Linked DNA regions of Homo sapiens: regions 2, 3, 4, 5, 6 and 7 are each linked to region 1. The links are contacts of gene promoters, found by promoter capture Hi-C in human tissues and cell types (Jung and others, 2019). All regions are on one chromosome and are shown on one strand. Each heading gives the region's core, a stretch centred on a gene start or on the middle of the fragment in contact. The rest is flanking DNA. Distances are from core to core; before and after follow the strand shown. Region 1 holds the start of E2F7 (E2F transcription factor 7). Region 2 overlaps NAV3 (neuron navigator 3). Region 3 overlaps NAV3 (neuron navigator 3). Region 4 overlaps NAV3 (neuron navigator 3). Region 5 has its middle 99 kb from the start of NAV3. Region 6 has its middle 210 kb from the start of NAV3. Region 7 has its middle 240 kb from the start of NAV3.

Region 1 (4,355 bases), core at 934-3,433:
AGAAACTGGAAGAGGAAAAGGACAAGAGCCCCAGAGGGAGTGTGGCCCTGGGAATACCTTAACTTTCCAGAACTGTGAGAGACTAAATCTCTGTCCTTATAAGCCAGTTGTAATTTGTTACAACAGCCATAGAAAATGAATACTGTTGGGAAAAGTATTTCCTTATCTAAACTTCTGCTTCCACATATGTGCAAAATTTAATAAGTTGCAATTTTTTATTGTTTAAACTTCTCATTAGGTTTCTACCTACAAAAGAGATTTCAGTTCAAAATGTTATTCCTATAAAAAATGTCAGATTTTTATTACTATTTTCTTTTGTTTAATGTTTTGCATACTTTTCTCTTTTCAATGTATGACCTAGCAGTGATTTTTTTTTTTTTAGGCCGTATTTACCAGCAATCTAGAGTACGAAGTGAAGGACTTGATTGAGCATTCTGAATTCTGCTGAGAGTTCATTTAAAATATATGTATTTGAGGCCGGGCACGGTGTCTCACACCTGTAATCCCAGCACTTTGGGAGGCCAAGGCAGGCAGGCAGATCACCTGAGGTTAGGAGTTCGAGACCAACCTGGCCAACACAGCAAAACCCCATCTCTACTAAAAATACAAAAATTAGCTGGGCGTGGTGGCGCACGGCTGTAGTCCCAGCTACTCGGGAGGCTGGGGCAGAGAATCGCTTGAACCCAGGAGGTGGAGGTTTCAGTGAGCCGAGATTGGGCCACTACACTCTAGCCTGGGTGACAGTGCAAGACTCCGTCTCCAAAAATAAAATAAAATAAAAATATTTGGAGGGTAAGTGGTGAAGAATGGAGTCTTGGTATAGAAAGGAAAATGATACCTTTGCTGTAAAGTAGATGGGGGGTAGGGACATGTCTGTACATTTAAGAATGTCTGATGCTTTAAGAAGGCTGTCTCACATTTCAGTTGAGGGATATCTTACAAAATACTTGACCAATACTACTCAAAAATGTCCAGGTATCAAAAATGAGGAAAGTATGAGAAACTGTCATAGCCAAGAGGAGCCTAGAGACATAGGAACTAAAGGTAATGTGGTATCCTGAACAGAAAAAAGGGCCATTAGGAAAAAATTAAGTAAATCTGAATAAAGTAATGACTTGAGCTCAGAAGAATGTACCAATATTAGATCATTAATTTCAAAAAATATTCTATACTAACACAAAATGTTAATAGTGGGTGAAATTGGGTGCTGAATATATGGGAATTCTTGGTACTATCTCAATTTTTCTGTAAATTGAAAACTTCTAAACAATAAAGTCTGTTTTGTAAAAAGTCCATCTCTACCAACATTCATATTTTAAACAAGAAACTGTAGGATGAAAGAAGTGAAACATTTAATACAGATCAGTGGTGTTGAGGAAATTTTCTAGACTGTCTCCCAGAATGCTAGTCCCTATTGCAAAGAACTACTTTTTTATATAAAGCTTTTTCCCTCCTAATTATTTGCAATTTGCCGAAAAGGGAACACCAAAAAACATTTCCGGATTTGCCACACACACAAAACAAACAAACAAAAAAAAGTTAGAAAAACTTCTGGTTTGGCTTCCAGTCTTGTCTCCAGGGCTAACTGGCGTGCCATCTGCTCGCAGCAGAGCGGTAACCATGGTTCATGTGTCACACCAGCGTGCGATGTTAAGAAGTTTGCCCCGGCAAGTCTGGACAACTCCGCTTCCGCACAGGTTGCTGAGGGCGGGCGGGGATGGCGGCAGCAGCATCCAGAGGGTGTAGATCGTTCTTCCAAACCCCATCTGCTTTCCTGTCCTCTGGCTGTGCCCGGGGTCCCCGGGCGCGGCAAGCCGCGGGGACGTGCGCGGGTCTTCTATGCATAACAAAAGAGCCCTCCTCCTCCTCTTCCTTCTCCCGCCGCCCCGCGCCGCCCCGCGCCGCCCCCACCTTGGCTTCCCGCGGCCGCCGGGGCCCGCGTCCCCAGCAGGAATTGGCTCCCGGGCCCGAGGTTTCCAGGTACCCGGAAGGGGGAGGGGGCCGAGGCGGCAACAATTGGGCGGGTGAGGGCAAAACGCGCGGCTCGGAGCGCCAAGACTCCGAGGGGCGGTGAGCCCGGGCCGTGCCGCCGCACGATTGGCCGGGGCCGCCCCGCCGGCCGCCGCTGATTGGTGGATTCTCAAATTCGGTCTCAAGGCGCCAGAGGAGGTGTTTTAGCGGGGACTACGATCCAGGCTGGAGTTGCGCTCGGCCGGTCTGAGCGCTGGCGCTGCCCGGACGCCGCGGGGTCCCCGCCAGCCCAGGGCACTCGGCGCGGGGATCTGCGCGCCTCGCTCTCCCTTCCCGATGCCGCCGCCCGGCTGCTGATCGCCGCACCACCTTCCCTCATCGGCTTGGGTCCGTGGAGGTCCCTGCAGAGGCAGGAAGCCTCCTTAGGAAAGCAGGGGTAAGCGTGCGGCCCCAGCGCCAGTGGGGAGGCGGGAATTGGGATACAGGGCCCACTCCCGCCCCGGCTGCCAGCCTGCCACTCCTCACGTCCCCCGGCTGGCGAGGGCTCGAGGTGTTTCTGCCGGGGAACCCGGTGCGCAGAGGGTGTGCCGGGTGCAGCTCTCACTCCGGCCCGGCAGTAGAGGGGATTTGCCCTTCCCCACAACTTGGAGCTTTCATTGGAGAAGTTTATTTGGGGGATCTGCTTGGAGGCCTGGGAAGGGGCTGCGCTCAGCGCTGAGTGGGTTTGGTCTAGCGATCGGGTTTCCTTCCCCCGATTCAAAACCCCTCAAAGCCGAATTCCTCTCAGTTCTTTGCGCCAAAATTAACTGACCTGGGAGACCCTGTACTTTTCTGACAGATTTGCCCAACACCCTTCCGACTTGGTAACTTTATTTTGCCATCTAGCTTTTCATAAGGAGTTACTATTTTTGTAGATTTTTTTCTTCCCAGATTTTCAGTATTACTAAGCACACTTTAGGTGTTTGAGTTTGTTCGCGTGAGTTTTAGAAAGTTGAGGGTGGCTACAACTCCTGGAAATGCCCAGGATGTGCTTAGAGAAGGGGGAATTTCATATTGACAAACAAGTAACACATATGTAGATATTTTTGTTTGAGGAAAAAATACCTAATTGCAAAATCATTTTCTAGTGTAATTGTGCATTACAGATGGAGGTAAATTGTTTAACACTAAAAGACCTGATCAGCCCCAGGCAGCCCAGACTAGATTTTGCAGTTGAAGATGGGGAAAATGCACAAAAGGTAAGCAAACATAAACACCTTAGTTTCTAATATGTTAAGGATGGTGATGTTGAATTCAATTAAGTGTTCCAACATGCCATTTGTATTTGTATTTAAGCATAATAATTAATATTGATAAACATTATAGAAACATTCTTTTTTAAAAATAGAGCCATCCAAACCATTATTGTTGGAATTCTACTCTCAGATATAGTGGGAAAAATAGGCAAGGTTACATGTAATGTTGTAACCAATTTATATAAGTCAAAAATATGCTGGCTACAGCAATCAAAGTTTATAATACAGTTGTCAAGGGTGGTGTAGCTAGTGCTCTGTAGGAATGCTAAGCCTCAGTTCCCAGGAAAATAGACCTTTGCAGGCATAAATGCTGGATTATTAAAGTGCTGTGAAATGTCTTCATACCAATGAACTAGCTCCCAGAGACTGTTCCATTCACCCAAGAGTAGACCTGTGCCTACTATATAGGGAGATAAAGTGGCTGAACTCATCAGTATATTCTGAATATTTTACCATACTGTTGCTAGTTTTGCACTGAGCCATTCCCTTACATTTTGCACCCCTTGTGATTTGTAAGACCAAGATGTTGTTTTCAAGAACATTACAAAGTAAACTGGCCATAACAATGTCTAAACTATCTGAGCATTTTTAGGCACAGGCAAATAGAAATAACAAACCAAGTTTTAGAAACTTTGAATATAAATCTGTGAGTAGCAACTTGGGCATTGAACTTCTCCGAGCTCCTGGTCTTATTTTTAGGCTTAGCATCAACAGTGAAACTCCTTGGTTGCAAAGCAACCCAGGCTCATATGAGCCTTTGAAGAATACTTGATAATTGCTAATTTAGGATAGATGCGAAATTGTATGCTCCCCCATCTAGGGATTTTTTTTTTGTCCGGCATTTTGATTTATTTTTATTAGGTAAAGAAATACAGTAGTTCCCCTTATCCACAGGGAATGTGTTCCAAGACCTGCAGTGAGTACCTGAAACTGTGGATAATAGTGAACCAGATTGCCATTAGTTGGAACACATTTCTGTTTATTCTGTTTATGTTTTCCACCCCCAAATTTAGTGCCTTTTCCATCTTAACTAAGTACTTATGTACCATGGCTATAACTTTTGCAGTTTGGGGTATGACAGCAAAACTA
Region 2 (4,355 bases), core at 663-3,162, 940 kb before region 1:
TTTCAAAAATGCAGAGTGTTTGAGAGGCATTGATTCTGGGGTGGGGGCTGTGGGGGGACGTGTTTATTTTCCCCTCTGAAATTACTCTTACCCAAATAAATTTGCTAGTCACAGATATCCAAAGATGAACAAAACACTATCCCTCCTCTAAGCAATTCTCTTTGTTATTTTCCAACCACCACTGTAGCCCATGCTAGTAAATGGATATTCCACCTTGCCCTATAAAAATATGTTGTATAATGCTTGAACTCGGGAAGCAGAGGTTGCAGTGAGCTGAGATCTCACTGCTGCCCTCCAGCCTGGATGACAGAGCAAGACTCTCTCTCAAAAAAAAAAGTTATTTATGATATTTCGCTTTATTCTATAATGAATATAATATGAATAATTATTACAAATATAATTATGCTAACTGACATTTTATTGAAGGTTCTCTAACTGCATTATTTCACAACAGCCCATTGAAGTGGGAAGGGCTCATATTCCTAATTCCCATTTGTAGAAACCAGAGCTTAGTAAGCTTCATTCAATGATTTAGGTATCTAATGAGGAGTGTATGGTGGAGCTAGGCTTTGACCCCACATCTTGTCACTCTACAGCCCAAGCTCTATAATTTTCTTGGAATGTCAAACATTCTAAGTGTTTACCACAGTCATTCTCAAAACTTTAATGTGCACACATGATACTTGGGGATCCTGTTAAATGCACATGTGATACAGCAGGTCTGCAGTGGGCCCTGAGGTTCTGCATTGCCAACAATCTTCTGAATGATGCCGTTGCTGCTCACACACAAGTCATACTTTGAGTAGCAAGGGTTGAGTAGACTCACAAATTCTGAAAACTGTTGGCCTTTTCAGTTTTAAAGGGCTGTTTCTTAACACAGTCCCCCAAATTGCTAAATTCATTAAATGTTTCATAGCTATGCAATATTAACATTTTTTACTGAACTTTCAGAACCTTGGCTAGCTCTGAGTTCACCTGGATGTTTAGCAGTTTGCTTCAAATAATCTCTAAAACCAAAATAAACTCTTCAGGTTCCCCTAATGTCATTTTTTCTCATCTCTTTGTCCACATACTTGTTATGTATCTTCTGTGCATCTACAACTAGGTTAAGAAGTAAGAGTGTGCCTGGGAGCTTCGGTGGGGTTGATCGGAGAGGGTAGAAAAGAACCAGTCAGGATGCTTTTTTAACTGGCTGATGAACAAGGGACATAAGAGAAGGTGCTCTTTCCTTAGAAAAGAGAAACAAGTTGAAGACATTAGCTAGAAGACTGCTATAGAAGTTCAAGTACAGAAGAGGAATTTCAACATCACTGCACCCAAAACTGAAACAAGAGGGACTCTGAATTATGACATCCACATCCAACCCACAGTAATAGTCATAACAGCAGCTGTAACATCATTCTCAGGCGAGTACACACATATAAGATACTTCCTGAAGCTCCGCTCTAAATCTGTCCACAGCCTGTCCCTATACAGAGGCAATGAGATGCTTCAGATTTCATTAAGAGGGCAAATCATAGGTTGTTGTGCATCAGGAAGGCACTGGAATAATAAGAGTCTCTCTGGACTCCTCACAGTAAAGATTGCACAACAGCAGCTGAAATGGCAGCACCTGTAGTTTCTACAGAATGAATGTAGTCACAAATTATAATCGTTGCCATTTATATATTCAGGAATAAGTAGCCTGGTCTCAATGACATATTTCTGAATGTTGATTACTCAACTTCTGACTATGAATGAATCTCAGCATGGGGAAAATAACAGATTTCTAATGCACATATTTAAAGGCATTCCAAAAATGGATTTGTATCTTGCATTTTTATGGGCTATCTCTGCTTACAGCCTTACCTCTTGTCTATGGTCCCCAAATAGCAATTTGCTTCCACTCCCTGTCTTCTGCTTCCTCTTCTTATACCTCACCTACACTCACCATTGCCAACTCCACCATAACCAAATAATATTATTCATCTACTGCTTACTTTATTCCAAGTACATAATAAGTACTTCATACATGGTATCTCATTTAAACCCATAATAATCTACAATATGCTTATGATCTCTCTTGTTAAAAATGAGAAAATGAAAACTTAGAAAGATAATTTGTTTTCAATCATACATATGGCAAAACTTAGAAAAAACAAAATCTAAATTGGAACTCATTTTTATCTGACTCAAACATTTGGAAGATTTTCACTGTCTCTTCTTTCCACATGTTTACTGCATGCCAGAAATTCTGCTGAAATGGCTCTCCAGCAAGCCACATTTATCGCACAGTCAAGTTAATTGGGTAACTCCTTGTTTTCCTTCTTCCTTGGTGAGCAGGATATAAATGGGGAGAACATCACACAAGACACTTTATTCAGGTATTATATACCTTCTTCTTTAGCATCTTACTTGCACCTGTTCCTCTGAGTTGATGTGAGAATAGATATTCGTTCACACTTGCAAAACATCTAAATTCACAGAACTAATGTCTAGTTATCTCATCTTGTAAATAAACAATATTGATGACTTGGGAACAATGCCAACCAAGTTCTAAAATTAATACATGGATGTAAATGTGGCAGTCACAACAGGCATATGGAAAGTTTATAGTGGGACATTTCTCTCTGGAACCTCAGTTAGCTGTAGAGTTAGCACCATGTTACCAAGAGTGGTATCAGTCTGAGAAAGGACATAGAGATGATTCTTAATCGCTTATCTCTTTTTCCTCACTGAATAGTGCGTTGCTTTGACAAAAGTAAACTAGGTTCCAACTCTGAAATATAATAAGTGACAACAAAAATGATGACAAAAGCACCATTCATTTCTGAAGTATTTCCTGCATGGCAGGCATTGTGCTCATTGATATAGATGGTCCCTGCTGAATATAGGATACTTTAAGCATCACAGATCGTGGTGGAAAGAGGAAAATGATTAAACAATGTGGCTATGCCACTTATTTTGATAAATAATTAGGACTTTAATTCCACAACAACATACCAAATGCTTTAAAAAAATTAAGTTGAAGAAAAGTGGCAGTCAAATCTAAATATGTCTTGGTATTAAGTGGATCCTCATGCACCTCCTCACACTGCTTTGCATAAATAATTGCTCGTGTATTGCCTCAGTCATCAATTTTATAGTGACTCAAAAGAAACATGGGGTGGAGTTTTATAGGGATCCTAGAAGAGCTGTTCATTCTGCACATGCTTATATTGTACCTTTGCAATATTAGAGTGCCACTCTGTGGAGAGTTGTACAATTTAGAGAAGCTTACATTCACTCACCAGCCAGTATGTAATTTATGTACAGGCATATATACTTTGTGGACACCTCAATATTTGTGCATGTATGCATAAACCAACAACACATATGGCCAAGTCTATTTAGTCTTATAAATTGATATATACATAGATATAAATATATAGATATAGATATATACATATATTTACACATATGCACCTAGTTATGGTAACTCATGGAAAGAATACTAAAATCCCTGAAATTATGACATTAACAACGTATTTTAGGCTTATATAAGTATTAAGTAATAAAGCATTAAAATGCATAATTAGATCACCAGTAAAATAATAACTAAAGCACATTTGCACTGGCTTGAAAAGAAAACAGTTCAGTTCTTTGACTTTATTGTAATTTCAGAGTAATTAAAAAAACAAAGTGTTTAAGAGCTAGACATCTATGTTTTAGCTGAATAAGCTGCCCAAATTTAAAGACTAATGCATAATTCTCATTAACTCTGATACCTGTATAATGTTGAATTAAAATGTTGCTAAATCCTTGGCATCTATCTTATTAATTCTGTGTTGTGTGTAAATAAAAGCCAAAGCTTCCACACCAGAAGACACCTGATTAGAATCTAGACAAAGAGAAGGAAGCCCTGTTCAGTGAGTAAACAGGTACAATGTAAGAATCACGGTGAGAAATGGCAAAAAGATGGTAGGTAGTATCCCTTCTGGTGCTGGGGCATGTTTCTTAGCAACATGGAAAAACACCTCTCCACTAAGGAACTCCATCAAATGATGCATGTTTATAGATCATAATAAAGAAACTGGATTCCAAATAAAGCTATGGATAAATTCCTAATAATATTAAGCTTTTTTGCATTTTTAATTTTTTAATACAAGTTTTGTAAAACAAAAGAATGATTTCTTAAGGTAACTTGCTTCAGGCATGCAAAGTATATGTCCAAAGGAACCATGGCATGGTTTCTACAAGATTTGATTTACAGTTAACAGGTATTTGGTTTACTTCGGAACATATATCTGTCTAGAGTACTCTCATATGGTTCTGGGCAAATTGACAAATGCTGGTGTCAGAGTGTATTATTCATTGTCAGTTTCTGAATGGCAGGT
Region 3 (4,355 bases), core at 917-3,416, 840 kb before region 1:
AAGAATATTTCTAATTAGCGTGGCTCAACTTGCTTGAAAATTAGTTTAATGACAATGATTTAAAACATTAATTTTAGACTAAAATAAACACATTTGGTCATAAAATGAAAAATTCACATAGGGTACTATAAATAATTGATCCTTCGAATACATTTTTTCAAGTTCAGAAGACTGAGTTTTGGTAAACTCTTATGAGTAATTTTTCACTCCATCCATCTGTAGGTATTTTTAAGTTAAAAAATTAAAGAAGCATTGCCAGAATAATTGATGTTTTTGCATATAGAGTAGATGATCATTTACCAAGATATTGTGGGAAAAGTCCAACATAGGATGCAATTCTGATTCTTGCATTGACAATAAACCAAAATACTCCATTATGTGTACTTATTAGTTGATCTTTTAACAGAAGCACAGACATAAGATTGAGATTGAAAACCTTGAACATTTCTGGCATGGTGGATCAAGTGCATTATAAATTTACTTGGTGGAAAAATGTTATGCTGGCCAACAGGTTAGATTAATTTTGTTAATGGCAGATTCTAATCCAGTTCTTTAAGGGAATTCTGGAATTTCCAAAGACTAGGACAGATCATCTGTTTCTGGCTGCCTTTTATCAAAAAGTCCAGAAGCATTTGATCACTTTTTACCTGGAGTTGGCTCTTTACTCCCTCCCCAAACACACTGTGACTTAGTTATTCTAAAGCTAATGTTGGGTTGAAATGGCACAGCACTGCCTTAAGGGTATTCATTCTTCCATTCATACACGATCTCTATAGTAAACACAGTACTTCCCAGGTAGAGTACCATCCTGGCCGGTTGAGGTATAAAAAGATAGCCATTCACTTCTCTCTCAAATACAAAAGTTTAAAAAGTTTTCCCTCTGCATGTCCATTGTTGTTTGTCTCTACTGATAAGTGTCCATACTACTTCAGTATCTCACAGTATCTTCATGTTTTAGGTTACTGTTTCACCTCTTTTCTTTCATGCTTCAGCTTTCAAGCAAAATGACTTTGGTGGCACACCACCAACCTATTAGGGTGTACCTTATTTCTCTGTCTCTAGGGGAATCTCCTGAACACAGAATATAAGGTGCAGCCTGTGTGCTTTCAGCCCTATTTTTCCTCAAGGGCTGACTTGTTTGGATGCCTGGGCTTTCTTTGTCACCAATCTTAGGTACAGAGTGAGTTGCTGGAACTGCAGCTCCTCAGAGATCAGGAATGCTTCTGGTGGTCAGACACTAGTCAATTGCTGAAGTTCAGGTCAAAATTAAACTTAGACATAGGCAAAAGATCATTTTTAAGTAATGATACCTTTTCAGCAATCTATTAAATATAAGTGTTTGTCCCCTCCAAATCTCATGTTGAAATGTGATCTCCAATACTGGAAGTAGGGCCTAATGGGAAGTGTTTGGGTCACGGGGACATATCCCTACTGAACGGCTTGGTGCCCTCCCTATGGTAATCAGTGAATTCTAACTCTGTTAGTTCAAGGAAGAATTGGTTGTTTAAACAGTCTGACACCTCCTCCCCTCTCTCTCTTGCTCCCTCTTTCCTCATGTGACCTGCCTGCTCCCCCTTCACCTTCCACCATGATTGGAAGCTTCCTGAGGTGCTCATCAGAAGCAGATGCTGGCACTGTGCTTCCTGTACAGTCTACAGAACTGTGAGCCAAAATAAACCTCTTTTCTTTATAAATTACCCGGTCTCAAATAACCCTTCATAACAATGTAAAATGAAATAATAGACATAAGAATACCCAAATTTCCTATCTAATTAAACTCCCTATGAGACATATTTTAAGTATGCCTTGAGAGTAAAATCGTGCTATTCTGTTAAAAATCTTAACATCGAAATATTAGGAACATTGTAAAGATGTCTCAAACATGAAAACAACAAAGGCATTTAAGTGATTGCATATATATAATGACATATCTTAGTTCTCTAATATCTATCCCACCATGAAAAATTTATATGAAACCCATTTTTAGACATTCATTTTGTGTGTCTAAAGTAAATTGTGATACCATTAAGATTTTATGTTCTAACTATAGACTCTGATGCTAGTCTATTTCAATAAAATCTTTAATAGTCATAAAAATTGATATTATTATATTTTATATAAAGCATCCATGAAGAAGCATTTATACAAGAAAGTCATAAATTAAATTCTCTATTTCCATTGGATCTTATAAGATAATGGGCAATGTATTTGAAAGGTGGCTGAACTTCATCCAGTAGCTTATTTTAAAAGACAAAAGTATGTTGCATCAGCTAATATTTTAGTAAAGAACTTGTTCTACCTGAAAGATAAATAACAAGCTAATCTGCCTTTTTTCCATGTGGTACCAGCATGCAGTGCCACAATTGTCTAATAACATACTGTTTCTTTTCTTTCTTCCCTTTTTTTTTGGAATTAAAGATTTTAAGTTGGTATTTCTTATGCTTCTTCTTCCTATCAGTATTCACTATGATCACCCTTGATCAGGGTGGAACAGTTGTTACCCGGATGGACAAAGCTCTCCCCAAATTGAACTGATGTTTTAGTAAGATCAGAGAAGAAAAATGTTCCTGAAAGTTTCTCTACTACATATGTTAAGATACAGATAGTGACTTTTATTTCCTGTTGAAAAAATTATCATCTTTAATTATCAAACTATTATAAAATCCTATACCCAATAATGTTAATCTAGCAAAAACGGTAGCCACATTTTGAGTACTTGTAACATCTAGGACATATATAAGGGGCTTTATATTCAGTATCTAATTTAATCCTTCCACAAAACTATCAGCAAACGTTATTATCCCCACTGTACAGATGAAGAAACTGAGGCTGAGAGAAATTAAGTAGCATGAGCAGGGTGAAACGACAAATGAAAGGGTCATGATTTGGATCCAGTCAGCCCATTTCCACATCTATGTTACTTTTACTGAACTATGAAATCTATAGCTTGATTTTAATTACACTACTTAGACTTTTAACTTCTTTAAATACAAACTATACAATCTATTTTCATAGGCAAAAATTAAGTGCCATTATTATAGAGAAGGAACAATCTGATCTATAAATTATGCAAAGCAGAAAAATTTCTTAGAAGGGTTGAATGTTTCTCTGACATATTGAAAATAGTAAAGCAGTGAAAAAAATCTACTCATTAATCAGATATTTTAATGATCTCTAAGCCAGTTATCAAAGAAAGCAATGTGCTTTTTAGATGAGTAATATTTTTGGGAAAAAAAGTACAAAATTCAAACACTACTATAAAACAAAATCAATACAATCATAAAAAACTAGACACTGGAAGCTAAAGAATAACAGGGATATATTCTTTTTAAATTGCTTTACCTTATCTTAAAAATACCTGTATCATTGTTTTTTCTCCTTCTAGAAAGCACATTTATGTGCATTTTGGTAAGTGATGCCCATTTGGAAACCATTTTATATTCCTTAAATAAGTGAATAAAAGACTTCCAAGCTTTTCAGTGAAGGACAATGTATTTAGCCCACAAGAAGTTATAAACCATATGTCAGCTCCAATACTTTCTTGAGGCATATGTTTTTGGCTTCATATTATATTTACAATACAGTGAGTTTAATATTTATGTTTATTTTCCAATATGTAATTAGTAGTCTATGTGAAAATAAACAGTTTTGAATATAAGTTGTTTTGGAACATCATGCTGACAAATAAACGTATAATTTGTGATTGCTACTTACATACAACAGCTCATTATGTTTTAAAATAATAAAATATAGTAAATATGCTAAAAACCACTGTAAACCACAACTCTATAGTATCTACATGGGAGTGGTTTAGTTCCAGCTTTCAAAAATATTATGGAAGGAAATTCTGTGGCAATCACTTTGTGTTTAATATGCATGTCATCAATTTTATTCAGCCATTTACTCTGAGAAAGAAAAGTTGATAAACATCCACACATCCTTACAAGTATGTGATACACATGTAACGTTATGTAGACAAGAAATAGTGCAGTGAGTTAACATTTACTGAGCCTGTTCACCGGCTCAGTATCACATATGTGTGGAATATATTGACAAATTAGCTTGCTCTTAGGTGTTTAGTCTTAGAAAATGGTACTGGAGTCTTAGCTTTCTTAACTAAAAATCAGGTGTAATGATACCTCTTCTATAGGGTTGTTATGAGGACTCCTACATATAAAACAGATAAATACAATATTGAAGATTGTATAAAAGTCTTTTCTCCTTCCACAAACACATTGCTACTTAGTTATTCTAAAGTTAACGTTTGGTTGAAATGGCACATCACTGCCCTAAAAGTGTTCATGCATTTTTCCATTCATGTGATAGAGATAGCTAGTGATACCTGTTACTAATTA
Region 4 (4,355 bases), core at 539-3,038, 790 kb before region 1:
AGGAGCTGCAAAGTATTATAGAATTCTTATAATATATCACAATGTCATTGAACAGAGACCTTTTGAGAAAATAGAAAAATATTGTGATACCCTTTAGGGATATCACAGATTCACTAAGAATAGATTCTGTCAAACTGACCTTCTTTCATTTTGTAACAATGTTAAGTGGGAAGCCAAAAAAATAACAAAAGCTTAGAATTTTGATTTCAGACAATATTTGATGATTATTTTACTATTTTTGGCAAAAATATATTGAAATTTAGGCTATACCGAACAGTTGGATAACTGTATAAATATTTAGACAATTATAATTTTTAAATGTTGATTAAAAGATCATTCTCCACCTGAATTCTTTAGGACACATGCAAAAGGATGTTAGTCAGCATATATTTTTTATTTTTATTTTTGGAGATGGAGTCTCGCTCTGTCACCCAGGCTGGAGGGCAGTGGCGCGATCTCAGCTCACTGCAAGCTCCGCCTCCTGGGTTCAGGCCATTCTCCTGCCTCAGCCTCCCGAGTAGCTGGGACTACAGGCGCCCGCCACCACGCCCAGCTAATTTTTTGTATTTTTAGTAGAGACGGGGTTTCATCGTGTTAGCCAGGATGGTCTCAATCTCCTGACCTCGTGATCTGCCTGCCTCCACCCACCTCGGCCTCCCAAAGTGCTGGGATTACAGGCGTGAGCCACTGCACCCGGCCAGATGTTAGTCAGCATTTCTAAGTAATAAATGCTTACACTTAAAATATTTAGACGGTATATGATCTCATTTGTAGATTTAGAAAAGATAGTAGAAAGAGGCGGCATGATTGATAAGGAAATGAACTTGGAATTAGCATAAATGATTTGAAATTATATGTTGTTTTCTAGGATAAGTGCCACAAATATTCTGGCACATTTATTTCCAATAATTTTAACACACACACACAAACACACACACACACACACATACACACATACACACAATTGGCTTATCATGATTACATAGCTTTATTTCCTACCTTCTTCAGTTACTTTTACATCAAAAAGAAAACATAGTCCTATATCATAAAATGTTCTCGGAAAACAAGGTTTCTAATGATCAGCAAGTTTTGTACATTCGTAAATTAACTGAAAAAGTTGGAGGACACTTGTTTGATAATAATCATAAAAGTACGATTTAGGGGATTTATGCAGATTTATTCAAATTCAAGTTTAGTATGTGAACATGGTATGAGGTACTGCCAAAAATATGATAGAGCTGCTCTAAGCTGAATCAACAGAAACAGGCTGCCTTCCAGTTCTAGAAACTAATGGAGCCATATTGCTGATGAAACATCATGTAGGCTATTGCTTTCTATTAATTTTTAATCTTAATGTTAAATATATCAGTAACTAATTAGGCTATGTCTGAAAACGAATAACCATGATGATAAGGCATCTGAAATTCATATTGTGTGTGGAATAGTTGAAAGCCTTTACTCAAAGAAGAGGACAAAAAGGTGAGGCTTTTTCATTTTCCTACCAACTGGTATGACTATGAGCTCTAAAAATGTACACCTGCTAACAGACTGCTTCCCAAAGTCAATTCTGAGTTCCTCAATTATCCCTGAAACCTTTCCAAGACTTAGAAGTCATAGGATTCATATAATATGTGTTGAATAGATAAGTGAACAAAAGACTATATTAGTAAACTAGAACCAATAAGTGGAACTAACAGAGAGAGAATTTTCACCTCAGTATAAGAAAAATTTATACCTTATGAAATATTAACTCCTGATTTTTAGAAGTCTGCCAAACTGACTATAAAAGGTATGCATACGTTAAGAGTTTTACTGGATTCAGAAATCATCTGACACAAAATGTGGCTTTTTTTTAAATAGAGATAAGATTATCTCTATTCTGTACAATGACCAATTCTGCCTGTTTTATTGTGTATGTTGAAATGTTGCTATCAGAAGTATTGCACATATTCAATTTTCATCTCAAATAGTGCTTTTTGCATAGAATAGTTTTGAAATTTTTGAACAGTAGAGTTTCTTAAACAAGATAAAAATTGATACATTGGATTACACTAAAATTAAGAATTTATGTTTCCCAAAAGACATTATTAAGGGAGGGAAAACACAACCCATGGAATGGGAAAAGATATTCACAATATGCATATTTGACAAAGGACTCATGTGCAGAAAATGTTTAAAAAATTTCTATCTACCATTAAGGAAAGAGGCTCACTACTTATTAGAAAAGTAAGCAGAAAACCTGAATGAACACAACGGAAGATATCCAAATGGCCAGTTAAATACAGAAAAGATAATCAATTCCATCAGTCATAAGTGTATGGAAGCTTAAAACTACAACAAAATCACACTACATAGAAAATGCTAAGGACCTGTGGCCTCATAACAATGGTGATACCAGAGGGCAGAGATGTGGAGCAACTGAAGATGCATTCAGGTTAGTAAGAAAGCAATCTGGTACAACCACTTTAGAAATGGTGGCAGTAATCGTACTCATGAAAGCTGAGTATATGTCTTGCCTATTACCTAGAAGTTTCACCCCTAGGGATCTACCCAACAGACATCGCTTCTTATGTTCGCAAAAAGACATGTGCAGGAATGTTCACAGTGTCATTATTCATAAATCCCCAAGCTATAAACTATCCAAATGCCCACATTAAAAGCAGAATAAAAAATAAATTGTGGGAGAATTCACGTACTGGAATAATATAAATCTACGAGAATAAGGAATCTAAATTGTAATTGTAAATGTCAGACAGCAATTGTAAATGTCTGTTTCCTATTCTCTACTAGCTGGAAAAATGTGTTCATTTTCTACAAATTCATGAAACATATTTATGGTATGTGTACTTTATTGGTATGTGTCTATTATACATCAATAACAATTTTAAAATATTTTACTAGGCCGTTTTCACAAACTTATAATGCATATGTTTTGTTATTCTTCATAAGTATAACATTATTTATTTATTTATTTATTTATTTATTTATTTATTTATGAGAGGGAGTCTCGTTCTGTTGCCCAGGCTGGAGTGCAGTGGTGCGATCTCAGCTCGCTACAACCTCCACCTCCTGGGTTCAAGTAATTCTACCACCTCAGCCTCCCTTTCAAGTAGCTGGGATTACAGACATGTGCCACTACGCTCGGTTAAGTTTTGTATTTTTAGTAGAGATGGGGTTTCACCATGTTGGCCAGGCTGGTCTCAAATTCCTGACTGCAGGTTATCCCCCTGCCTTAGCCTCCCAAAGTGTTGGGATTGCAGGCGTGAGCCACTGCACCCAGTCAGAATAACAGAATTTTCAGAGTTTAAACTGTTATTTTGAAAATCAGTTATCCATTACCACACGTGAACTTTATAATGAGCAGGCCACATCTATCCCTACTCTCAAAAACTGCTTTTTATTTCCTAAGAGTCATCATTTTATTTATACTTTTGCTGTGATTTCCTAAATGAAGCTGTTGTTCAATTTCTGCTATTGTAGTAATAGTTCTTACTTCTCCAAGCTTAGTCCATGGGAATTACAAAATAGGCAGTAGCTAGGTCGTCTTTCTCATGTTTCTTAGCTCTAGTTATACTTTAGTCTCCTTATCTAAAAAGTGAAGATAACGGTAGTACACACGAAGACTAAATGAGAATGCATTTAAAGCACCTCTAACGGCATCTGGCAAGTACTACTTAATATTAATAAATGATAGCCAGTATTGTTAGTAGTCTTTCATGAAGTTACAGTAATATAGACACTGAAGCTGGTATTAGATAATGCTTTAAACATTCTAGGGAAAAATACAATTAGTTGTGAATTTTACCATATCATAATATATAAATTTATTATTCTTAAGTAGGAAGGAGTATGCATTTTTGAGATAATAGCATAGCATTTTTTGTTCCTGTTTCTTAGTTGATCTAAAGTTTCCCTAATCATTAAAATAACGACAATCATTATTACAAGAAGACAGAATTCAGTCTGTAACAAATAATTGATTGCTTAATATTATTGAAAATATTTTTAAGTTCATTGTGACAAAATAGTCTCAAAAGTTAGATTTCATTGAGCACAAAAGTGTTTTCCAAATTCAAGAACTTTTCTTTATCTATCAAATACAAAATCTTGGTTACCACAGCATACAGTGGCACTATTAACCACAATGCATAGGGTGCAAGATATATTTCAGAGAACCTGTGACAGTGAGGGTAAATAAAGGTTCAAATAGCAGTAAGGAAGCAAGGGGATTCAGAAGGGGTATTTCTAAAGATAAGATACAATTTGAATTCCTGAGAAAGAAGCTGGTGCCTCCATACCCTTGGGACTAGGCACAAGATTAACAGTTACATAAAAAAAATTCAAGATAGGTCAAA
Region 5 (4,355 bases), core at 1,377-3,876, 670 kb before region 1:
TCTAATTCTTTCCCTTAAGTCTCTCTGATCCTGAAACAAACAAACAAACAAAAATCTTGACTTACCTTTCCTTGCTTTGTCTCCTAACATCTTAAATATCTAGTTTCTCCACCAATTGAGTTTACTCCCTCACCTCTCATTTATTTAGAAAACTGAAAACAAGCTCTTAAATCAACCTCTTGCAAAAAAAAAAAAAAAAAAAAAAATCTAAACCAAGTCAATTAGGGCTTGCTAATTATCAAACAGTTGAGTGGCCTATTAGTGAAATTTGATCACTTTCTCCTTGAAACTACTCACAGTATCCTTTGCTTTCATGAAGCCATGCTTTGTTGGTTTCCCTCAGAAATCTGGCCCCTCTTCAGTCTTCTCTGTGGTCTTTGTTTCTAGCCACCATTTAAGTGTAACTTTTTCCCCGAAATCATAACCACATTCTGCTTCAACATTTAGCTTACATTTGTCAAGTGATCACAGATGATGTTCTGGAACTCTGCTGTATCTCTCTGAGATGGTTGCAACCATTTCCAATTTATACAGGTGATTTATATGGTGAAACCCAAAGCCAGATCAATAAAGGTCACACATATTCTCTCTCTCTCTTTCTCTGGCTTTGAACCAAGTACCTAGTGCACATTTTTATTTCTCCAGATCACACAAATAATATCTATCTCAAAGTATATTCATATTTTTCTTATCTCCCAAATGCTCTTCTTCCTGTTTTTCTCTTATTGATAAATGGTTTTTCATCTAATTATCCAAGCCACAAATACTCGTCATGCCCTATTCCAATCTTTCACTAAATCTTATTAAACGTACCTCCTTAATGCCTCTCATATTTGTTCCCTCCTCTCTGTGCCTACTAGCACACTTTGCCTCAACCAATGCCAGTCTCATAAATGTTCTCATTGCTATATCCCCTCCTCTGATATTTCCAATTAATTTTCCATAATATTGCAAGAAGGTGCTTTCTGGAAAAAAAATCAATCATATTATTTTCCCAGTTAAAATCCTTCAATGTCTTCTTCTAGCTGTCAGGCTAAAGCCCAAAGGTCTTCACTATGACAAGGCTCTTCATGAACCAGTTTCTCTTATGTCTTCACACTCTTCCTCCACCAATTCCCCACATGTACTCTTTAAATGTGCATCATACATCTATGCTCCAGCCTTACTTAGCTACTCTCAATTCCTCTGCTTTTTCAACAAATGCCATGTGCATTAGCTATTCCATCATCTACAGTGTAGTTACTGCAGATATAGGATAATGACTAATCTACATAGGCTTAGTAGTCAGGTTACTTAGGTGCAAATATCAGCTTCACTGCTCACTTGCTCAGTGACCTTTGCCAGTTAAACTATATGTGCCTCATTGTTACCATTTGCAAAATGGGAATGAAAACAATTTGTGCCACGCAGGGTTGTAGTGAGTCTCAGGTGAGACAATCCATATTTCACAATTAAATTAGGGTCAGCAATAACCTCTCAGTAAATGTTAGCAATGATTACCAGAACTATAAGTAATAAATGTCTATAGGAAGTACTTAATTCTATCTGTTTTTGGGAGTGTTTCACAAAAAAATTAAGCAGCTCACACGCACTGCTGATGTCCTATAGCTTGGAATCACCCACCCACGGAAGCACCTCATAAAGCAGTGAGAAGAGCCCTCTTCAAATCTCCCTCTGTATAGGAATTTTCCCTGTGTGTATCAAATTCTTCTACGTTCAGTAATGTCTACCTCCCTTCTTAAGTCCCTCCTCATCTGTTCTTATTCATTCCATATCAGCAACCCAACACCATGATCTTCTCTGAAAACTCTTCACCAACAGATAAACAGCCCCACTTCATAACTTCTGCACATGGGCTGCTGAGTAGGCCATTAAATTTGAGGAGGAAAAGGCACTAGGAATCCTTGATGAAGAAAAAGAACATAAATTAGCAGCAACCTCAGTCTTTTCCAGTGATTCCAAATACATGTTTTATCTTGTAAGTTTTTTTGTTTTGTTTTGTTTTTGCCTTATTTTCAAACTCTTCCTTTCTACCGACTCGTTCTCTGTAGCCTATAAACCTATTCGAGCTCCTCCCATATGAAAACTGTCCTTCCCCTCAATGCTAAATGTAGTAACAGTTCCTCAATTGTCTTTCCTCTGCCCCTGGTAACTTAAGTCTTGCTGCAATTGTGCTACATTTGCAATCTCCGCTTCTTCAGCACCTAACCACTATTTTTTTAATTAAAATATAATTTTATATTGAAAATTCTACACATAAACATTTTAAAAGTTGAATACTTTTGGAAAGATTTTTAATAAGAACAGCACTACTCTGTGTCACCATCAGGTTTCATTCCTGAAAGGCCACCATTTTAACTCTTTTAGCTCCGTCTTCTTGAATTTTTCTCAAGTTGATAAATGATATCCATGCTGTTTCCCATTAAAAGCTCAACAATCTCTTGAATTCGTATATGGAAAATGAAGATTCCTCTCTCTCTTAGTCTTAGTTTTTATACCCTGGCTAGAATTTGCCAATCACAATTTGGATAGTAATTAACATTCAGTGTTTATGTTATACTAACTAGGTAAATATGTTTCCTGCTGGGTTATATATCGTATCATAAAATCATTTACATTAGTGAGCAACTTTTTCTTTTTGTATAATTGAGCACCTCTTCAAGAAAACTGCACAATTTTCTGTGTTCTTGTCATTAATTCTTCTATAACTCTCTACAATAGAACATATAGGATAATCCATTATTGCAACTTATCTTTTTTCTCTGAAAGACCTTCCCCTGGAATCCTCCCTTCTCCTCCAAAACTCAGGACTGGCTGCTGTATGGGACTGGTATTCAGGTGTTATCCCTTTCTTCAACTTCATTGTTCTGGGATTACCTTTGCCTCTCTTCTGCACTGAATCCTCCAATTTCTGAATCTCATGCTATCTTCATTCTTGATTTATTCCCTTAGTTTGATGAACCACAAGTTGTATGAGTGGAAGAATTTTGAAACCGTGTGTTTTTTGAAATACTTTTATTTATCTTTGTTTTTTAATCCTTATGTCATTCAGAAATTAGCTGAATACAAATTCTAGGTTGGCAATCATTTTCCTTTTGAGTATTTGAGGCATTATTCTGTTTTTATTCTAGCTTCTAGTACTTCTATTAAGAATATTCAGCTTCAAATGTGCCCTTTACTTGTGAAAGCTGTTAAGATTTTCTCTTTATCCCAAGTATTTAAAAATGTCATGATTATGTGCTTTTTTGTCTTCTTTAAAAAAAAAAAAAAGAAAAAAGCACTATGCCATCCCATTCAATGGGCACTTTTAATCTGGAAACTTAGTAATTCAGAGAGTCTTGTTTTATCTTTTGGCATTATTTCACTCCTAATTATTTCACTTCCATTTGCTCAATTCTGTATTATTGGAACTCCTGATCATAGGATTTTATTTTATTCTGCTCTGATATCCTCAGCACCTAGAACAATGCAAGACACATAACAATGCTCAATAAACATTTATTGGATATATAAATTAGAATACTAGACTACTTGGTTTACTTTCCTCAATTTTCTTACCTATTATGATTCTCCTTTGTTTTCTTTTTAGCTGTTTCTAACTTTTTCTCACTTTTAATTTCCAATCCTTACATTATTGTTTTTTTTAGTTTCCGGAATCACGTGTTTTCATTTCTAAAAATCTTTTTGTTCACTAAATGTCTTTTTAAATTTCATCCTATTCATCTTTCCTGTGTCTTTTATTTTTCCTCTGAGCATATCAGTTATTGCTTTTTAAAAAGTTTTTCTTTTGCTAACTGTATTGTGAATGTTTCAATTTCTTCTGAGTTATTATTCCTGATTTTCCCATTTTCCTTTGTCTTACATTAAAGGAATTTCTCAAATTCCCTGGGATACTTAGCAATCTATATGTTAAAGTGAGGCTTAAAAAGTAGAGAGTGAGGTTTGTGTTACTAAGTAGAGTTTACTTGTTCACAGGTCTTAGAATAATTGGGTAGAGCCTGAATGTTTTCAACAAGCTTCAAATGTCAATATCTAGAAATTAATTCTATACCCCTCATTCCCATATACACACCTCTTCCTTGAAATAGGAATCTATTATGCTCCTGCCTAGAGAGCTAAATCTTGGATATAGCATCCTGGGTAAAGAAGGAGTTGATGGCTTCTCTACTTGGTATCTAGATTTTTCATCAATTATCTTGTTTTCAGGCCCTCTATTGTGTCTGATATCCTGAAGTCTAGAATATTTCTGATTTAATTTTACCAATAGGTAAGTCTCCTGCCTTATATCAGGATTTAGGAGGAGTTGTCATTTGGCTGTGGAGGAAATCTGAAAGATGAATTGCTGCTGCAGAATT
Region 6 (4,355 bases), core at 675-3,174, 550 kb before region 1:
TGATGGACATAAGTTATTTTTTAAATATTTCAGGAAGCTTCATGGCTTCCGATAGCATTAATAAACCTAAGGGGGGTTGACGAGAGAGCTCTATTTTCTGAAGAAGCACAAAGAATCACGGTTGGCAGTGATAATATGCCAATGTAAGAAACCACTTTTCAAAATATGACAAACTATAATAAATGCTTTTATGAAAGAAGAATATTATGCTAAGTGTCCAATATAGTACTAACCTGGGTTATAAAAATATATTCTTTTCAATGATTATGACAAGAAGATTCTTATTTTGGAAGCAAATCTCCTAAGGCAATTCTTATGTCCTTTAGATTTCAAAGCTATATTTTCTGGTTGCATAACACAAAGCTTATGCTGACAATGAAACTGAAAGAAACATAAGCCCTTTGGATATTAGAAGAAATCTCAAGTAGGCTACTGACAATCCATTTATTTAGATTCTGTGTGCTTTTAATTCTTAATTTGTAGACGATGAGTGCTAACAAAGTACAGCCTTGTCTTCCTTCCTATCTTCTTCCTTCTTTCTCTATTTCTCTGGAGCATTACAAAAATCAATGAATACATTCTATAAAATACTGACATAAAAGTAATATTCAAGGATTACTACCATTTTTATTAAAGTAGAATCTATTCAAGCTATTTTGTTGATATTATGAGAAATTATATATATACGTGTTAAACACACTGCAAAATTTTAGAAATAAATTTGATAGTATTTAGTTATACAACATTTTAATTTGATACTTTCCACATATCTCATTTATTTTAAACTTAAAATACTAACAATAGTATCAACTAATATAATTATTTTTCAATCGAATATTGCATGTCCATGAACAAAAAATGTATGCCATTTCTAGTAGACAAAACATTATGAAGAGTAATTAATATTTTGCTTGTGTTTTAGTAGTGCCTATCTATAAATTTAAAATCATTCCAATGAAGTACTGTATAGTTGACTATTGCTCAGGGTAACTAATTATTCCAAAACTTAATGGCTTAAAGTAGTAAACATTTATTTTGTAGTTTCTATGGGTCATGAATTTGTTAGTAGCTTAGCTAAATGATTCTGGCTTAGTATCTCTAAGGAGGCTGCAGTTAAGATGTCAGCTGAGGTTACAGTCATCTGAAGGCTCAACTGGGGCTGGGGAATCCATTGCCTAGATGGTTTACTCACCTGATCTAGATAGGAGTGAAACCAACTCCAAAAATTCTATACTACTAATCAGGCAAGAAGCGGAGAGACAAAACCAAACCAAACTTGTTGCACACTCAGCATTAATCATTAGGTCAGCTTGCTTCTGGCCTGCTTTCTCATGGTTGTTTGCTAACTATTGCCTCAGAATCACATAGACACTGTCACAAGATTATAGTTTCCCTTAACTGCTCTGTAGATAATGACTTGAAAATTGTAAAATTTAAGTTTTCCATTTGAGATATTATTTCAGGTCTTGCATACTGGTGAAACTACTGAGGTAAGATTACTGACACCAGCTGGTCTGAAGGAACCCACTAGGAGCTGAACAAAGAATGCAGTTTTCACATCTGTTAATTTCATCTATCTTACCCACACCAATCAATAGATCCAATTTTCCAGCCCCTCACTCTCCACCATACCCTTAAAAGCCCCAACGCAGAATTCCTCAGGGAAGTGGATTGGAGGATCCCTCCTGTCTCCTTGCTTGGCCGCCCTGAAATCATTAGACTGCTTCTCTGCTGCAAACCCTGCTGTCTTAGTATATTGGTATGTTACTGCATAGTGGGCATACAAACCTGGTGGTTCTATACAAGGAAGTCTCAGTTTTTTATCATATGCCTCTCTCCATAGTGCTGTTTAAGTCACCTCATAAGATGGCAGCAGGAATCTCCCCAGGACAAGTAATCCAAAGGAACAAGACAGGGGCCTCAATGAGTTTTATAACCATCCCTGAAGTCACATTCCATCTTTCTGGCAACTTCCCATTCATTACACAAGTCAGCTGTACTCCATTTAGGAAGGCATGTCAAAGGCAAGAACACCAGATGGTGGGGATCACTGGGGAACATCTGGGGACTGGCTACTACAGTTATCAAAACTTTAAAAATATCAAAATTCACATTTCAATAATTTACCAAAATTTAAAAATTTAAAAATTGTCCAGTATACCCTAGCAAAACAATATTCAGCCGTCCAAAGAGCTTCCAATACATGTGAAACTCAATGAGAAAAACTGTGAAATGTATTAAAGAGAAAGTCACAAAAGATGTGCTCGGGAAACTCACAAGAATAGAAAAGATAAGTGACTATTTAGTATCATGTCAATGCTATAGCGAATTCTATTATGTTCTTTTAGAGCTGCAAAAAATTTTGAAACCAGTGACAAGTTAAAATAATCAGTAATTCAAGTCTATTAGCAGTCTCTTAGGATTATAAAATATAAAAGAAATGTAGAAAAGTTGTTGAGATTTTCTGCAGAATATCATTCCACCTACACAGCTAGCAATAAGTTTTTAAAGAGGAGGTGACTAATTGCATGGAGCATATTTTAATACATAATCGTGTGTGTGTGTGTGTGTGTGTGCGCGCCTGTGTGTAGCACAAATAGCAGGTTTTGTGTGTGCATGTAGTACAAATAGCAAGCTTTGGAGGTAGGAAGATCTAGTCTCCCAGCTCAGTTCTGATATTTACTGAGTCAACTTAGGCAAGTAACTTAACATTTCTGAGCCCAATTTCCTCACCTGTAAACTGGTCCCCCCTACCTCACTGGTTATCTGTGAGTCACAGAAGCCTATGTATATGTTGGTGATTGTACCACATTATATATACAAAGGGTCTTCAAAAAGTTCAAGAAAAATGCATATTGTGAAAAAACTATGCAGGGATTTAAAATTTTTGCACCAAAATACCCATACTAACTTATTTTATTGCCCAGGCTGGAAGTACAGTGGTGTGATCTCGGCTCACTGCAACCTCTGCCTCCCTATTCAAGTGATTCTTCTGCCTCAGCCTCCCGAGTAGCTGGGATTACAGGTGCCCACCACCATGCCTGGCTAATTTTTGTATTTTTAGTAGAGACGGGGTTTCACCACGTTGGCCAGTCTAGTCTCGAACTCCTGACCTCAGGTAATCTACCCACCTTGGCCTCCAAAGTGCTGGGATTACAGGAGTGAGCCACCATGCCTGGCCTCATACTAACTTCTTATGTCTGAATACGATATAGTTTGAGGCACTAAGAAGGATAAAACATCAGTTAGAAAAAACACTCCAACATGAATTCTGCTAAAATGGAAGAACTAATATGAATTTTATGGTGAAGCTTGGGTGAAAGAATAGTGAAATCACTGATGCTTTATACAAAGTTTATGAGGATAATGTCCCCCTCTGCCCCGCAAGTTAGTGTACAAATGGATAACTCATTTAAACAAGGGAAGAGATGATGTTGAAATGAAATGCCACAGCAGCAGAGAGAGGGAACTATACCAATTGGAGAAGAAAAAATTAAATTTGTCTGTGCCCTAATTGAAGAAGACTGACAATTAACAGCACAAACAAGAGTCCACACTATAAACATCTCAACTGGTATATACCCAAAGGAAAATAAATCATTCTACTAAAAAGGCACATGAATTCATATGTTCATCACAGCAGCATTCACAATAGCGAATAATGGAATCAATAAAGATGCCCATCAACGGTGGACTTTATCAGGAGAATGTGGTACATATATACACAATGGGATACTATGCAACCATAAAAGGAATGAAATCATGCCCCCTACAGGAGCAAGGATGCAGCTGGAGATCATTATCCTATGCAAACTAACACAGGAACAGAAAAACAAATGCTGCATGCCTACACTTGTAAGTGGGAGCTAAATGCTGAAAACACAGGGACACAAAGATGGGAACAATAGACACTGTAAACACTGATCCATAGATCAGGTACTATCATGATCACTATCTTGGTAATGAGGTCATTTTTACACCAAGCTTCAGTGACACACAGTTTACCCATGTAACAAACCTGTACATGTACTCCCGAACCCAAAAAAATAAATAAATAAAATAAATACTTCATTAAAATGGTATAAATAATCCTTCATGAAATTTTTCTAATTACAAAATAAACTTTTATAAATTATAGAGTTGTGGCTTCAGAAATCCAAGTTGAAGAAAATTGATTGCATTTTAAAATATTTCAAAAAACCCAAGAAATATTTACTTGCTCCTATATCTCACATTATACATACAAAGAAAAAGCAACATCTGCATGTGATGTCCTTGCCATACTTCATCACCTAGCTATCTTTTGGCTGACCTTCTCATCCAGGGCTCAGCTTAGAGCTCATATTTTCCAATAA
Region 7 (4,355 bases), core at 609-3,108, 520 kb before region 1:
AGAATGAAAAATATAGTTTACAATTTACAAATCATCTCAGAAATTTGTAACATTTAATTTTACCAAAAATCAGGTAGACTTTCTAATTAATCAGTAGTAAAGTTAATATGACATATGGACTTAAACATATATGTATACATTAGGATATAGATAGATACACATACATATATAAGTATACAAACATACACATACATAAATTCAATCTTAATATAAATACATGGGCATACATCTTTATATTTATATGGGATTGCCTCTTGGATACACACATTTTTAAACATGCACATCTAGAATAACATGTTATATGTTTAAATGGTTTTGAAATCAATTGACACACTTGAATATGGCTGATCAAATTGTTATGGATAATGTTTCCAGGTTCCTCAATTTATCTGTATTGGTTGGTTCTATAGACTCAAGAAATCAGTTATTCTCCAACTACAAGCTTCTTCCTTCTGTGTAGAGATAACACTATGAACTGTATATTTTATACACTTTCTAGAAATGTCTCCAACTTTGGAGTTTGTGTAAAACAATTAAATAACGAACATCACAAATATTTCTCATACTATAAATTTCCCCATAGGGAATAATCCTAAAAACCTGAAAAGGAACTACAGCAGTGAAGATTCATCCTATCAATCATAGAAGTAAATAAAACAGATGAATATGTTAACATATTTGAGACAGATAGAAGTAACAGATTTTTCCAACAAATCACTACCTTTTTTTAGAAATAAGGTTTCAAATGGAAAATGATTCATTGAGGGAATTTATTAAGAAGACAAATTTTAATGAGCAGTAAGCTTATGCAAAATACACAAAAGGAAGCAGTTTTTATCTCATATATTTTATTTTCTCCCAACATTTTCCAGTTGAATGACTATTAGCAGCATTCAGGGAAACTAATTTGGTGAGAAGACGAGTTGTCTGTCTGAAAACTGTATTTCCTCCTTCTCTATTTCCTGAGCCATTCTTACACAGCAGGTACTATACAAGAGTCTTCACATGGTTTATCACCTTTGTTATCACAACCACCTAATGATGTCAAGTATTATTATTCCCATCTTTCAAATGAATAAACTGAAGCTAAAAGAACTACAACCACAAGAAAAAGGAGTAATCTTTGCACTCATACCCAGATCTGTAGGACGCTACAACCTGCTTTCTTAATAACTATAAAAACCTGTGTCTATACACAAATTATTTTTAAGCTTTTATATATAAACTCTTGATTATAATCTCCATGAATGAGCATATTTGTGTGAATAATAACCACCACAAGTGTGCGGGTCTTTAAGTTTAGAGGTACAAGTGCAGGTTTGTTACACAGGTAAACTTATGTCATGGGGATTTGTTGTACGGATTACTTCATCACTCAGGTATTAAGCCTAGTACCCGTTAGTTATTTTTCCCCATCCCCTCCCTCCTCCTACCCTCCACCCTCTGATAACCCCAGTGTGTGTTGTTCCCCTCTGTGTGTTCAAGGGTTCTTATCATTTAGCTCCACTTACAAGTGAGAACATGTGGTATTTGGTTTTATGTTCCTGTGTTAGTTTGCTAAGGGTAATGGCCTCCAACTTTGGTGTGGGGATCTTAACTTCATTCCTTCTGCTGGAGAATTTGCTGTTAAGCCATCTCACTTTATCGGACTTTTGTTGAAGCCAAAGGCAGGCCAGGAGCTTAGTCCATCATTGATGAATCATCCATAGCTCTGTCCTCCACCCATCCAAGTTCTGTCATCCTAAATCCTGACCAAAAGTGCTGAGTGCAAATTTAAGTGCACAGCCTCTACTGGGGTTCCTTTGCCATTTATGATATGGAAAGATGACTCTAATCTATACATAGACAACTTTTTCTTCCTTTTAGAGGTTTAAGGTTATGTTTTAGTTGTACCATGCAGGAGTTACAGTAGCCAATAAAACTAATCTTTAATGGAGGCTTACTCTGTTCCAAGCTTACATAAGTTATCTCTCTTAATGTTCTCAAAAAACCCTATGGGAAAAGACTGTTACTGTCTCAATTTTACAGAGAAATGTGATTAAGCAAATTGATCAAGTTGATACAGCTAGGGAAGAGCAGAAATGGTGTCCAAATCCAGGCTAACGCCAAAGCCTGTTCTCTTCACCTCTACTCTGGAAAATATACTTGGTGGACAATCAAATTCAGAGTCAATTTAAGATGTCTGATATGGTTTGGCTGTGTCCCCACACAGATCTCATCTTGAACTGTAGCTCCCATAATCCCCACATGTGGTGGGAGGGAACTGGTGGAGGGTGATTGAATCATGGGGGTGGTTTACCCCATGGTATTCTGACAATAGTGAGTAAATTCTCATGAGATCTGATGGTTTTATAAGGGAATTCCCCCTTCACTCATTCTCATTCTTCTCCTTCCTGCCCCCATGTGAAGAAGGATGTGTTTGCTTCCCCTTCTGCCACGATCATAAGTTTCCTGAGGCCTCCCCAGCCCTGTTGAATTGTAGGTCAAATTAAACCTCTTTCCTTCATAAATTATCCAGTTTTAGGTATGTCCTTATAGCAGAGGGAGAACAGACGGCTAATACAGTAAATTGGTACCACAGAGGGGGGCTGCTACTATAAAGATACTTGAAAATGTGGAAGTGACTTTGGAACTGGGTAACAGACAGAGGATAGAACAGTTTGGAGGGCTCAGAAGAAGACAGGAGGTCTGAAGTTGAGGTTCAATGTGATTAACTCACTGAACAAAATCCACAGAGCCAGGATCTGAACTATTGTCTTCCTCTTCCCAAAGTGTTTTTCCTATTATTTCATGCTGCCAAGGTCTTCCTACGGGAGAAAAATTATAAAATGTTTCCTTCCTGGAGTAATTTTTGTCTTAGTACCTAGATCCTTTATCTGTATCCTCTGTGAGTCCACGTTGCTTTGGCTTTGATGGAGATTGAAGCTTCTATAACACTTTAAAAGCTCAGTCCAGGGTACAGGACTCTTAGTACTCATTCCCAGGTATAGCTCTGCTGTGTCCAGTCCTAACATTCAGACCACTGCCTTCATTCCCTAGTGCTCAGTATGCAGAGAGCCCACTAAAACTCTAGACCAAAAGGGATTTCACATTTTACAAACAGAATCAAAGTTGTAGAATTTTGTTCCTCTCAAATAAAAATATTTTGTCAAAATTATAATTTTTTCCTTAAAAATGTATTTTCACAATTCATACCTGTACTTTTCATGTGAATTACTTTCTTTATAAGTACTTGCCAAATTAAGGTCCCTATTATAAGGAGATTATAATCACTCATTCATTCAACACACACAGTAGATAGTCTGCACTAGGCCCTAGGCTAGGTACTGGGGACGCAGGGATGCTTAGGGCCTGGGACTTAAGGTGCCTGAAACCTTGTGATTAGAAACAAAAGGTATCCATGAAAAATGCAACATCAGGTGTGGTGTGAACACCAGTATGAGAAAGCACCAAGAAGGCAAAAGAAGCTCAATTTAAGTGCCCCACGGGGTTATTCCTAACCTATTACTGGTCAAATATAACAGTAAATACTTATTGGTTGGGTGTGGTTGCTCACACCTGTAATCCCAGCACTTTAGGAGGCCAAGGCAGGATGATCACTTGAGCTCAGGAGTTCAAGACCAGCCTGGGCAACGTAGTGGGACCCTTTCTCTACCAAAAAAAAAATAAAAAAATCAGCTGGATATGGTGGTGTGCACCTGTAGTCCCAGCTACTCAGGAGACTGAGGCAGATTACTTGAGCCCATGAAGTCAAGGCTGCAGTGTGCTGTGATCACACCACTGCACTTCAGCCTAGGTGACAGAATGAGACCTCATCTCAACAAAATAGATATTTTTACTGACCCATGACATTATGGCTATCTTTTCTAAGTATGTTAAATTTGGGAATGATGGATGTGCACAAATAAATGTTTAAAATACATATGGAAATTGTAAGATGTTAAACATTATATTAGCCTGATTTAAAAATAATAGAACCTACTTGATGGACTGGAAACTATTATATATGTGTCTTTGATCACAACTCTAACATTATCCAGCAGTTAACCTCGGGAAAGTTACATAGCCACTCTGGGCCCCAGATTCCTCATTTTCAGAGTGATCTATGTAATCTCTAAGGTTTTCATTGGCTTTAAAATTCTGTAACTATTACATGGAATGCTTCTACTTCAGTCTACCAAATCTTAACATTCCTGGCAAATTAACTATTCATGCATCTTATTTGTATCATTAAACTGCATGCTAATCTTTCATTCTTAATGAATGTAATAGTTTCACCAAGCTTTTCTGTGACTCCTTTAATTTTACATTTTGTAACTAAAGTTGTCTAACTCAATGAAAATGAACTTCTATAA

The links. Contacts are between HindIII fragments. The study calls those that stand out against the background at their distance.
Region 2: a contact is called between a fragment that was not itself captured here and the fragment with the promoter of E2F7 in region 1, in 1 of the 25 tissues and cell types used here (dorsolateral prefrontal cortex).
Region 3: a contact is called between a fragment that was not itself captured here and the fragment with the promoter of E2F7 in region 1, in 1 of the 25 tissues and cell types used here (dorsolateral prefrontal cortex).
Region 4: a fragment that was not itself captured here is called in contact with the fragment with the promoter of E2F7 in region 1 in 1 of the 25 tissues and cell types used here (dorsolateral prefrontal cortex).
Region 5: a fragment that was not itself captured here is called in contact with the fragment with the promoter of E2F7 in region 1 in 1 of the 25 tissues and cell types used here (heart right ventricle).
Region 6: a fragment that was not itself captured here is called in contact with the fragment with the promoter of E2F7 in region 1 in 1 of the 25 tissues and cell types used here (mesenchymal stem cells).
Region 7: a fragment that was not itself captured here is called in contact with the fragment with the promoter of E2F7 in region 1 in 2 of the 25 tissues and cell types used here (bladder and dorsolateral prefrontal cortex).

Annotation. Positions count from the first base shown.
Region 1 is chr12:77,063,397-77,067,751 of GRCh38, reverse strand. It overlaps E2F7 (E2F transcription factor 7), which reads left to right and starts at 2,183. Exons shown (of 13, transcript NM_203394.3): 1 at 2,183-2,407; 2 at 3,117-3,209. The coding sequence starts at 3,117. RefSeq lists enhancers at 1,564-1,793, 1,529-2,235 and silencers at 1,844-2,273, 2,294-2,343. The HindIII fragment of the contact is 7,313 bases long and covers 1-4,355 here.
Region 2 is chr12:78,001,898-78,006,252 of GRCh38, reverse strand. All of the region lies in intron 7 of NAV3 (neuron navigator 3), which reads right to left. Among named protein-coding and RNA genes, the nearest start is that of NAV3, 170 kb to the right of the region's middle. The HindIII fragment of the contact is 4,103 bases long and covers 1-3,963 here.
Region 3 is chr12:77,907,493-77,911,847 of GRCh38, reverse strand. All of the region lies in intron 1 of NAV3 (neuron navigator 3), which reads right to left. Among named protein-coding and RNA genes, the nearest start is that of NAV3, 79 kb to the right of the region's middle. The HindIII fragment of the contact is 4,690 bases long and covers 1-4,355 here.
Region 4 is chr12:77,851,180-77,855,534 of GRCh38, reverse strand. All of the region lies in intron 1 of NAV3 (neuron navigator 3), which reads right to left. Among named protein-coding and RNA genes, the nearest start is that of NAV3, 22 kb to the right of the region's middle. The HindIII fragment of the contact is 4,717 bases long and covers 1-4,146 here.
Region 5 is chr12:77,729,686-77,734,040 of GRCh38, reverse strand. It overlaps a transcript of NAV3 not described here. Among named protein-coding and RNA genes, the nearest start is that of NAV3, 99 kb to the left of the region's middle. The HindIII fragment of the contact is 7,242 bases long and covers 1-4,355 here.
Region 6 is chr12:77,614,952-77,619,306 of GRCh38, reverse strand. It overlaps a transcript of NAV3 not described here. Among named protein-coding and RNA genes, the nearest start is that of NAV3, 210 kb to the left of the region's middle. The HindIII fragment of the contact is 3,448 bases long and covers 201-3,648 here.
Region 7 is chr12:77,587,600-77,591,954 of GRCh38, reverse strand. It overlaps a transcript of NAV3 not described here. Among named protein-coding and RNA genes, the nearest start is that of NAV3, 240 kb to the left of the region's middle. The HindIII fragment of the contact is 3,493 bases long and covers 112-3,604 here.